2 separate regions of the Homo sapiens genome follow, and region 1 is linked to region 2. The links are contacts of gene promoters, found by promoter capture Hi-C in blood cells and fetal thymus (Javierre and others, 2016). All regions are on one chromosome and are shown on one strand. The core of a region is centred on a gene start or on the middle of the fragment in contact, and the rest is flanking DNA. Distances in the headings are between cores, read along the strand shown. Region 1 overlaps SAMTOR (S-adenosylmethionine sensor upstream of mTORC1). Region 2 holds the start of LSM8 (LSM8 homolog, U6 small nuclear RNA associated).

Region 1 (4,210 bases), core at 1,709-4,208, 5.2 Mb before region 2:
CACCAAATTGCTTTCTGGGGACCTAAGAATCAGCATTTTAAAAAGTTCACTGGAAGATTCTGGAGCCAACTAACGTTTTAAGAACCATGGCCTTAGACGCTTTAAAGCTGCAAACATGATATATACTTATTAAAGAAAACAAATGCACCAAAACCAACTGAAAATACTGATTTGTTTGATTTTGAAAGACTGGGACTCTTTGAAAATCAAAGCAAATCAATATTTTCTTAAGAAATATTATAGTAAACATAATTTTACGTTTTCTTGAGGACTTTAGGCTGTCACTATGAACACCTTCACTCTACTGTAAATGAAGCATAAATGGCGGCAGATACAGTTCTACTACTGTGTTGGTACCCAGCACAGCAGACACCCGATCCCTGGGAGTACTCCCTGTGTTCTGTGATGGTTCCACTTTTCTTCTTCCAAACTCTAACTACTGGTGTGTTCCAAGGATCTGTCCTCAGTTCTATATTACAACCCCACTGTGCAGTTTACTTGCCTCAAAGATTCAGCCTCCACAGAGGGCTTCCAAATCCTAAACTTCCAAAGGATAGATTGCAAACTAAATCATTACCATTATCCCTATAACAAGCCAATCTGCCTGACTACCCTGTTCCTCTTGCCTCCAACTCCTACCATTTCCAAAGTGTATGCTAATAGCTATCTACATTTTCCCGGGAAAGAAATATTGGCATCATCTTTGACCCTTCTTTATTTTCACTGAAACTGCCTATTCTGATCTTCAAAGTCTGTCTTCTTCTATTTTCATCATCACTACTGTTATTTAAGCTATTATTAACTTTAGATCAGGTTAGTATAAAAGCCTCCTTTCTCCTAGATTCCTCCTACTACAATAGCTGTGTTTCTGAACCTCTTTGTCCACTGTGTACTCTGGGAGCTTTTATATATACAGATGTCTGTGTTCCACAAAGTTCCAAAGATTATACTGATGTGGAACCAAGGCTAAGAACCGCTATGTTAGTGGGTTTATTTTCCATTAAACAATCAAGGAATCTGCAACAATGCTTTTGGTTTCTAGTGTATCTTTTCAACTGCAAAAAGCCCCTAAAACGATACCTTGTCACAAAGAACACTAATAATAACAAAATCAAATAGCTAAACACTAATGTACATTGTATACCTACATGCCCTTCATTGAACTGACTATATAAATGGTCCCTTTATCTTTTACTATTACTGATTACTGAACTCTTTTCATTATTTTTCTTCTGTTGGGAATGGCAGTTCAAACTCTCCTAGTGCAAACTTAACAGGACCTTCTGTGACAACCTTCACCTTATTTATTTCAATGATCAGGCAAATATTCTATCACAAAAAGCTTTCTGATTCTATATCAGAATAAGTATAAGAAGAACACAAAAAGAAAACAGCAAAACCTCACTTGAGAAAAGAATCTGTTCAAAGTTTCTTAAGGTCTTGGACTTGGTCAAAATTTTAAAGCAGCTGTGTTTAAAGCCCACTGAGGAAAAAAAATAAGAAAAGTTCAATTAAAAGGAGTCTCATTCTAATTTTTAAAACAACTTCAAAACTTTGTTTCTGGAAAAACACCAACATCACATTCATTCTCTTATTTTTAGCCTTTTTGGTTTAAAATTATTTTAATACAAAAGTTTTTCCCCTTCCCCCACAATTCTCATTTTAAGTGTTTGCTGAAGAATAGTCAATCACAAATATATTTTTCAGCTTATCCTACACTGCCATGCTAATTCACCTGTTAAGATCACCCCCTAATTCCATGACTTTAAGAATACCTCTTTTAACAGTTTAGTACATACTTTTACTTTTTTTTGTGATTGATTTATAAGCTGCAGGTGTTTATGTGATAAACTGTTTTAAATCTGTTTGGTATGCAGAACAAGTAAATTCAGGGATTGAATAATTTGATAAAATGTCCCAAAGATATTCATAAGATAGGTTAAAAAAATAAAAACGAAATGGAATGAAAAGTGTACTTTTACTCCTGACAACTGCAGCCTTTTACATTTTCTTGGAATTTTTACATAAACGCTTTAAGTTTAGAAAGAGAAATGCCAGGCATAAAAGCAATCATTACAGGAATGGGTTCATGTGAATACGATTATGGAAAAAAAAAATCATACAAAGACAACCAAAAACACACATGGCTCTACTTCAGTTCTTGATTTGATACATATTTGTCAGGCTCATCTAATTAAATAATGAAGTCCCTGTTTGAAAAGCGAAACTAGTTTTTTTAATTAAAAAGCTGTCTATAACTCTTATACATTTAAAATATTTTTGGTTTACATGGAGGTCAAATTTTAAAAATTATGTATGCAAAGACAGAAAACACCTATATGTGCAAGCATATTTCCATTTATAAATATGGATCTATTCACTAGATAGTGAAAAACCTATCTTATGAATATCTTATGAATATAACCTCACTTTAAAAGACTGTCTCTTAACTATCAATGGCAGACACCAGAAATACCCCTTCGCATCACCACTGCTAGGCATCTCCCTACCATTTCTTTTTAGTAACTGCTTCAGATACGAGTGCTGCCTGGAACACACCTTTATCTCCAGTTCTCACTTTACCTTTAGACAAATTGGCACAGCATCTCTTAAGTGGTGAAACAAGGCAGGCCATAAACTGGGGAAGGAAAAAGTGGTAAACGAAAAGAGTGCATTAAGCCTACCTGCTACTCTTTACAACCCTGTTCACCCTTCCCCACCCCAAGCCTGTTCATCACCATCAACTAGCATCAGTTGGGCAAATGGTTGGAGAAGAGTGGAAAAAAATCTTTTCTTATCACAGCAAAAAAGAACAACACAACTTATTTTCATTGTTTTTCCTGTTTTATTTTCAATTCCACTAATAGAGATAAGGGAAAAGAAGGCTCTGTTCTCCAACCTCCCAGTCACTATCTATCCTGTCCTTAATATTCAATGGCTGTTTTGCCTCCTTATTCTACCCTAACTTATTTCCTTCCCTGCCATCTCTCCCCAAAAAACCCTCACCTTGTATAGCCCCAACTCAGCTAATCATACCTATCCTATGGATCATCCATTCCCATCAATTTATAACTTTTCACCTAATGGAAATTCTAGGGCCACTTCCTGCTTCTCATTTTCCCTCCTATTCTAACATTTGGAGTCACTAATATTAGGTTTGGAGTTGGGGGTGGGGAACCTATATTATTCCCATAAAATATGTATAGTATTAATAATGAACTACCAAAGCATCAAGAAAGTTATTTTAATATTTTTAGGACTCCGCTCACTTATCTGTAAAATGAAGAAGCTATTAGATCACCACTCTAATATCTGGCTGACAATTTCCAGTTCCTAATAATAGGGATCTTAAACTATAGATCTGAGGTAGAATACAGGAATTGTCTAAGAGGCACCCAGTTGAATCTGCTGATCAGCCATGTTTGGGAATCACTGCTAAATGCTAAGAGGTTCCTTCTAGTCTAAAACTCCAAGATCCTAAGCTGGAATTTTCACTGCATTTGCTGGTAGAAGAATTGTGATAAAAGGGGTACAGTTTCCATAGTTATTGGTGCTATAGTTCAGGTATGTTATTGATTCAATGGGCCTTTGCAGACTGATCTAGCACTTAAGCAATCTTCAGATTACAATAACAGCTGACTTGCAAATGAACTTGTAAAATATGTTTACAGACTGGGGACCATCAGCACAATACTAAGTCCTCAAAGTAAAACACTAAAAATTATTTCCTTAGTATTATTATGTGCACAGAGTTTTTCACAGATGACTTTTTTACTACTAATATTTAGCCTATATGTCAGAAATAAAGGTAGAAGGAGCATGCTCATTAGGATCACTTATTCTGCTAATTCACTGATGGGGCTTTGTATATCATTCAAGCAAAGCCTAGAGAAGTCTAGATCACCGGTGAAATTCAGGGTATTAAAGCGCCTAAAGAATAGTCTCATTCAAATGTTTAAACTGCCAGGACTTTAACTCCCCAGAAGCATACTAGATCATTCACTTATGAACTCCATGTATCTATTCTAGATCTGGTAACTTCCGATTCTCATAAACAAGAGTTCCTGTGGTTAATACTCAGGCTTAAAACATGGTTAAACATGTGGGAACTAAGCACATATAAACAGCACTTGAAGAGATGCCACATTAGTGTGTTAATTTGAGTGGAACCTATTCATTTATGAATAAATGAATAATGAAATTATTAAAA
Region 2 (4,016 bases), core at 1,395-3,894:
TTGCAACTTGTAGGGAAGTAAAGCATAAACGCGTAAAAGGAAATAAAAGTTCTCATCACATAAGGTTAAAAATATTATTTTATTTTAAAAAACTGCTATTGTGATAGTTTTCCATAAACTATTCAGAGAAGCGCAAATTCAGTTTCCTAGGATTCTACTAGAAGTCTGATCCTTTAGGTTAAGGTTTTCTGCTCAAGATTTAGATTCAGAAGTAATGGAATAAAATTATCTATTACAAGCATACTTTGGTTGATACTTTATCAGTGATATAATGTCATTTAAATGAGCATTACTTTGAGAGGTTTCGACTTAAGGGGCAAGTTTCACTGTTAACTCTTAATTTTTTAGTAGTCAGATGTTTATGTGTATCAGTTTTCCCTTATTGGAGCTTTAATGTAATTCTTCTTTATGAGATGCTAAGGTTTCTACATTCATGTACTCCCAAGGGTACATGGCTAATATAGATAAATCACATATGTAATGTTTGCATCCAGATGTAATTCATTTTGTCTTAGTAAACCGACTTTTATTTATCCATAGGTTTTCTCGCTACATCTGTGATCCTTACAGACTACAGAAAATATAGCGATTTTAAGACACATGTAAAAAAGTTTCCAGCCAAAGAGATTTTGTGATGCTCCATAAACACTGTTCATCTGTTATTTATCTGGCATATTAATTTAATGACAACTACACAGGGCAATAGACTTACAAAAGCACACTCTAAGGGATGAAAAGCCATAGGGAGTATTCATTTTTTTTTTTTTTTTTTGAGATGGAGTATCGCTCTGTCGCCCAGGCTGGAATGCAGTGGCACAATCTTCGCTCACCGCAAACTTCACCTCCCAGGTTCTAGTGGTTCTCCTGCCTCTGCCTCCCTGGTATATGGGACTACAGGTGCCCGCCACCATGCTGGCTAATCTTTGTATTTTAGTAGAGAGGGGGTTTCACCACGTTGGCCAGGATGGTGTTGATCTCTTGACCTTGTGATCCACCCGCTTTGGCCTCCCAAAGTGCTGGGATTACAGATGTTAGCAACTGCACCCGGCCTCATTTTTATAAGATCACACAGAGGTTTTTTTGTTTGTTTGTTTTTGAAATGGAGTTTCGCTTTTGTCGCCCAGGCTGGAGTGGAATGGCGTGATCTCAGCTCACTGTAACCTCCGCCTCCCGGGTTGAAGCAATTCTCCTGCCTCACCCTCCAGAGTAGCTGGGGTTACAGGAACCCACCAACATGCCCAGCAATTTCTTTTTTTAACAAAACTCCTAACACCTCGTTAATCATTAATTAGTCTTTGGGTTTTGGTTCAACACCTAACATTTGCAAATCACACAATTATCTTTGTTCTTTCATTAGCGGAAGACACTTTCATTTGTTACCCTGAGAATATGAGACATTCACAATCTAATTCCTGACTACATTTGATTTCAAACAGATAGGAATAAGTTCCAGAATATAAAATATTAACTATTTGGGAGTATCTTGTGGGTATGCTCTAATTAAGAAATGCTTCCTTTTCCGAGGAAAACTGCTGACATTGCAAGAGTTATTACAAAGCCACAAATCTTAAGAAAATACATGTTTAACTGAAATTATAAAGATATTTTGCAAAAAAGGGAAATCGCTCCTGCTGGTGTTTTGTGTATAAATCTCTTTCTAACTTCAAGCTCTCTCAAGTTAGGGCAACAGTAAATGAAGTGGGAACAGTATCGCATTGGGAAATATCTGAAATGATACCTATGGGACTATCTAACGAAACTGAGGCCCAGAAGAATTGAAGTGACCTGTGCAATGACACCAATTTGTTAGCAGAGCCAAGATTAGAACCAAGTTTGGTGCCTTCCTGCATCCTTCCTGCATCGGTCCTTTCTCGGTGCTGCAGCAGCCTTTTACTTACTAATTTCACCCTGAAGAAAGGTAGACCATCCTGGCGTGGCAGAAGCGTGGACATTCGTTTTCTAAGGGATGGTCACACACCTTTGCCTATTTGCATTTAGTTTCTTTAAAAAGTAAAAACACCTCCATTTTGGAACACTTTTAGAGACAAAAGCAGAACATACGAAAGTGTATTTCACTGCTGAGTTCTTAAGAGGCGTACACCGTGTGGTTATAACGTGCGCAACTCTGTCCCGGGCAACTGAACTTATTTTTAGCGTTATTTTCGGCTTCTGCTGCAGAAAACTAGGGATTCAACTACCCGCACCTACGTTTCACACAACAGCACTCGTCTCTCTCCTTCACTCCTAATAAAAACACCTTACTTCGTTTATTCCTGCCTGCTCTACCTCGTCTCAACATTTTCTCTTGTTAACTTCCACCACACTGCCTTTTACTCGGATTGGAAACCCACTCTCCCCCAACTTCTGTCTCATACCCCCAACTTCTGTCTCATACCCCCAACTTCAGGAAGCGTCTTCCTTTTTTCCGCCTCTCGTTCGCTTTTGTCTTACGAGGCTTCCGGAACACGGCCCAGAATTACAGAGAAAACACACTGCGCACGCGCACTCTCTCGTCACCGCTGTGCGGCTTCTGTTTGGTTGGCCAGTTCGTCCCAATTTCCGACTCACAGGGCTGCGGAGCAGCAACTCTCACGATATTTGCTGCGACCCGCAGGCGCTATCCGCTGCCGGGTTCTGGCGCGCCCTTTCAGTTCTGCTTGCTGTCGGCACCGCTGCGTTACCCGGAACCGCCGGGCCGAACAGCATGACGTCCGCTTTGGAGAACTACATCAACCGTATCCTCAAGCTGGCCGCCGCGGGCGTGAGCCGGGGTCGCGGAGAGGCCGCGGTCGGGGATCGGTGGGAGGTTGGGAGGCCTGGCCTCGGCGGGATCCTGGGGGCGGGCGAGGAGATGAGGGCCCCGGAACGACCCAGAGTTCGCCGGCGGCGCCTCGAGCCTTCCCGCTGCTGCGGGCCCAGGGGTCCTTTCCATTTTGCCTGCAAAACCCAAATAAAAACCCAGTGTGATTATTCCGAACTTTTCTGTCTTAAAAAAAATGTACGCTCTTGATTCTTACTTACTATTTCCCTATGGCATAAGTGTTAAAGTTTGTGAATAAGATGAACAGTCGTCCTGGCGGCGACAACAGTTTTGCAAATCTTTGTACTTGTTTTATTCACATAATTTGCTCGTTCGAGGATAGCAAAAAGTTTAACGATGGTTCACAGACTGTTTCTGTCCCTTTACCACTTGAAGTCCCAACTTGTTGGTAGAATGAAAAAAAATGGTTGCTGTTGTAATGGATTATAGTGAGGAGCAAGTAACAACCCCATGGGAAGTCTTAAAATAGACTTTACAAGTGTTACCGTTTTAAAGTCTTAGGACAAAAACACTACGTTAAGCTCAGGTACAAACTGGGTGACAAAAATTAAATACCGAATGCTTTTAATGATGCGTTATTGGTACCCTGTGACACTGCTTATATAGTTTCTTTACTTTTGAATTACAGAAGCCTGTCCTGGAAGACAGTTTTTTAACATGCTGGAAAATCGTCCAACATCGATTAATTTAGTACTCATCCACTTTTCATTTTAGAAATAAACAGGCCTAAGAAACGAAATATCCTGCCTGAAATAATAGATTGGTAACCTTCCTAGTAGAAAAGTGTCAAAAATCCAGGATATTTTGAGATAAGATACACCGATCACATACAGAAAGAGGTTTTCTTTTTCTATTTTTTCCCTTTTTTAATCATGTAATTATCACAAAGACAAAAACAGAAGCTTTTTTTAAGTTTTTTTTTTTTTTTCTTTTTTTGAGTCGAGGGTCTCACTCTGTTGCCCAGGCTGGAGTGCAGTGGCTTGATCATGGCTCAATGCAACCTTGAACTCCTGAGCCCAAGCAATCCTCCTGCCTCTGCCTCTGCCTCCTGAGTAGCTGGGACTATAGGTCACCAGGCCAGGGTAATAGAGATGGGGGTATCGCTGTGTTGCCCAAGCTGGTCTCACCTCAAGTGATCCTCCTGCCTTGGCGTCTAAGAAACTTTTAACGTTTTTATGTAGTGAACTTAGTGGCT

What was found. The method cuts DNA at HindIII sites, captures the fragments that hold promoters and counts their contacts. A CHiCAGO score of 5 or more calls a contact.
Region 1: a contact is called between a fragment that was not itself captured here and the fragment with the promoter of LSM8 in region 2, in 2 of 17 cell types (naive CD4 T cells and activated CD4 T cells). The highest score is 7.3, in naive CD4 T cells.

The regions. Positions count from the first base shown.
Region 1 is chr7:112,933,782-112,937,991 of GRCh38, forward strand. The region is part of intron 1 of SAMTOR (S-adenosylmethionine sensor upstream of mTORC1); the gene reads right to left. Among named protein-coding and RNA genes, the nearest start is that of SAMTOR, 4.0 kb to the right of the region's middle. The HindIII fragment of the contact is 3,237 bases long and covers 1,341-4,210 here.
Region 2 is chr7:118,181,520-118,185,535 of GRCh38, forward strand. LSM8 (LSM8 homolog, U6 small nuclear RNA associated) reads left to right here and starts at 2,645. Exons shown (of 4, transcript NM_016200.5): 1 at 2,645-2,735. The coding sequence starts at 2,705. It overlaps LOC105375470 (a long non-coding RNA gene), which reads right to left and starts at 2,449. Exons shown (of 4, transcript XR_927904.3): 1 at 2,396-2,449. The HindIII fragment of the contact is 4,305 bases long and covers 1-3,721 here.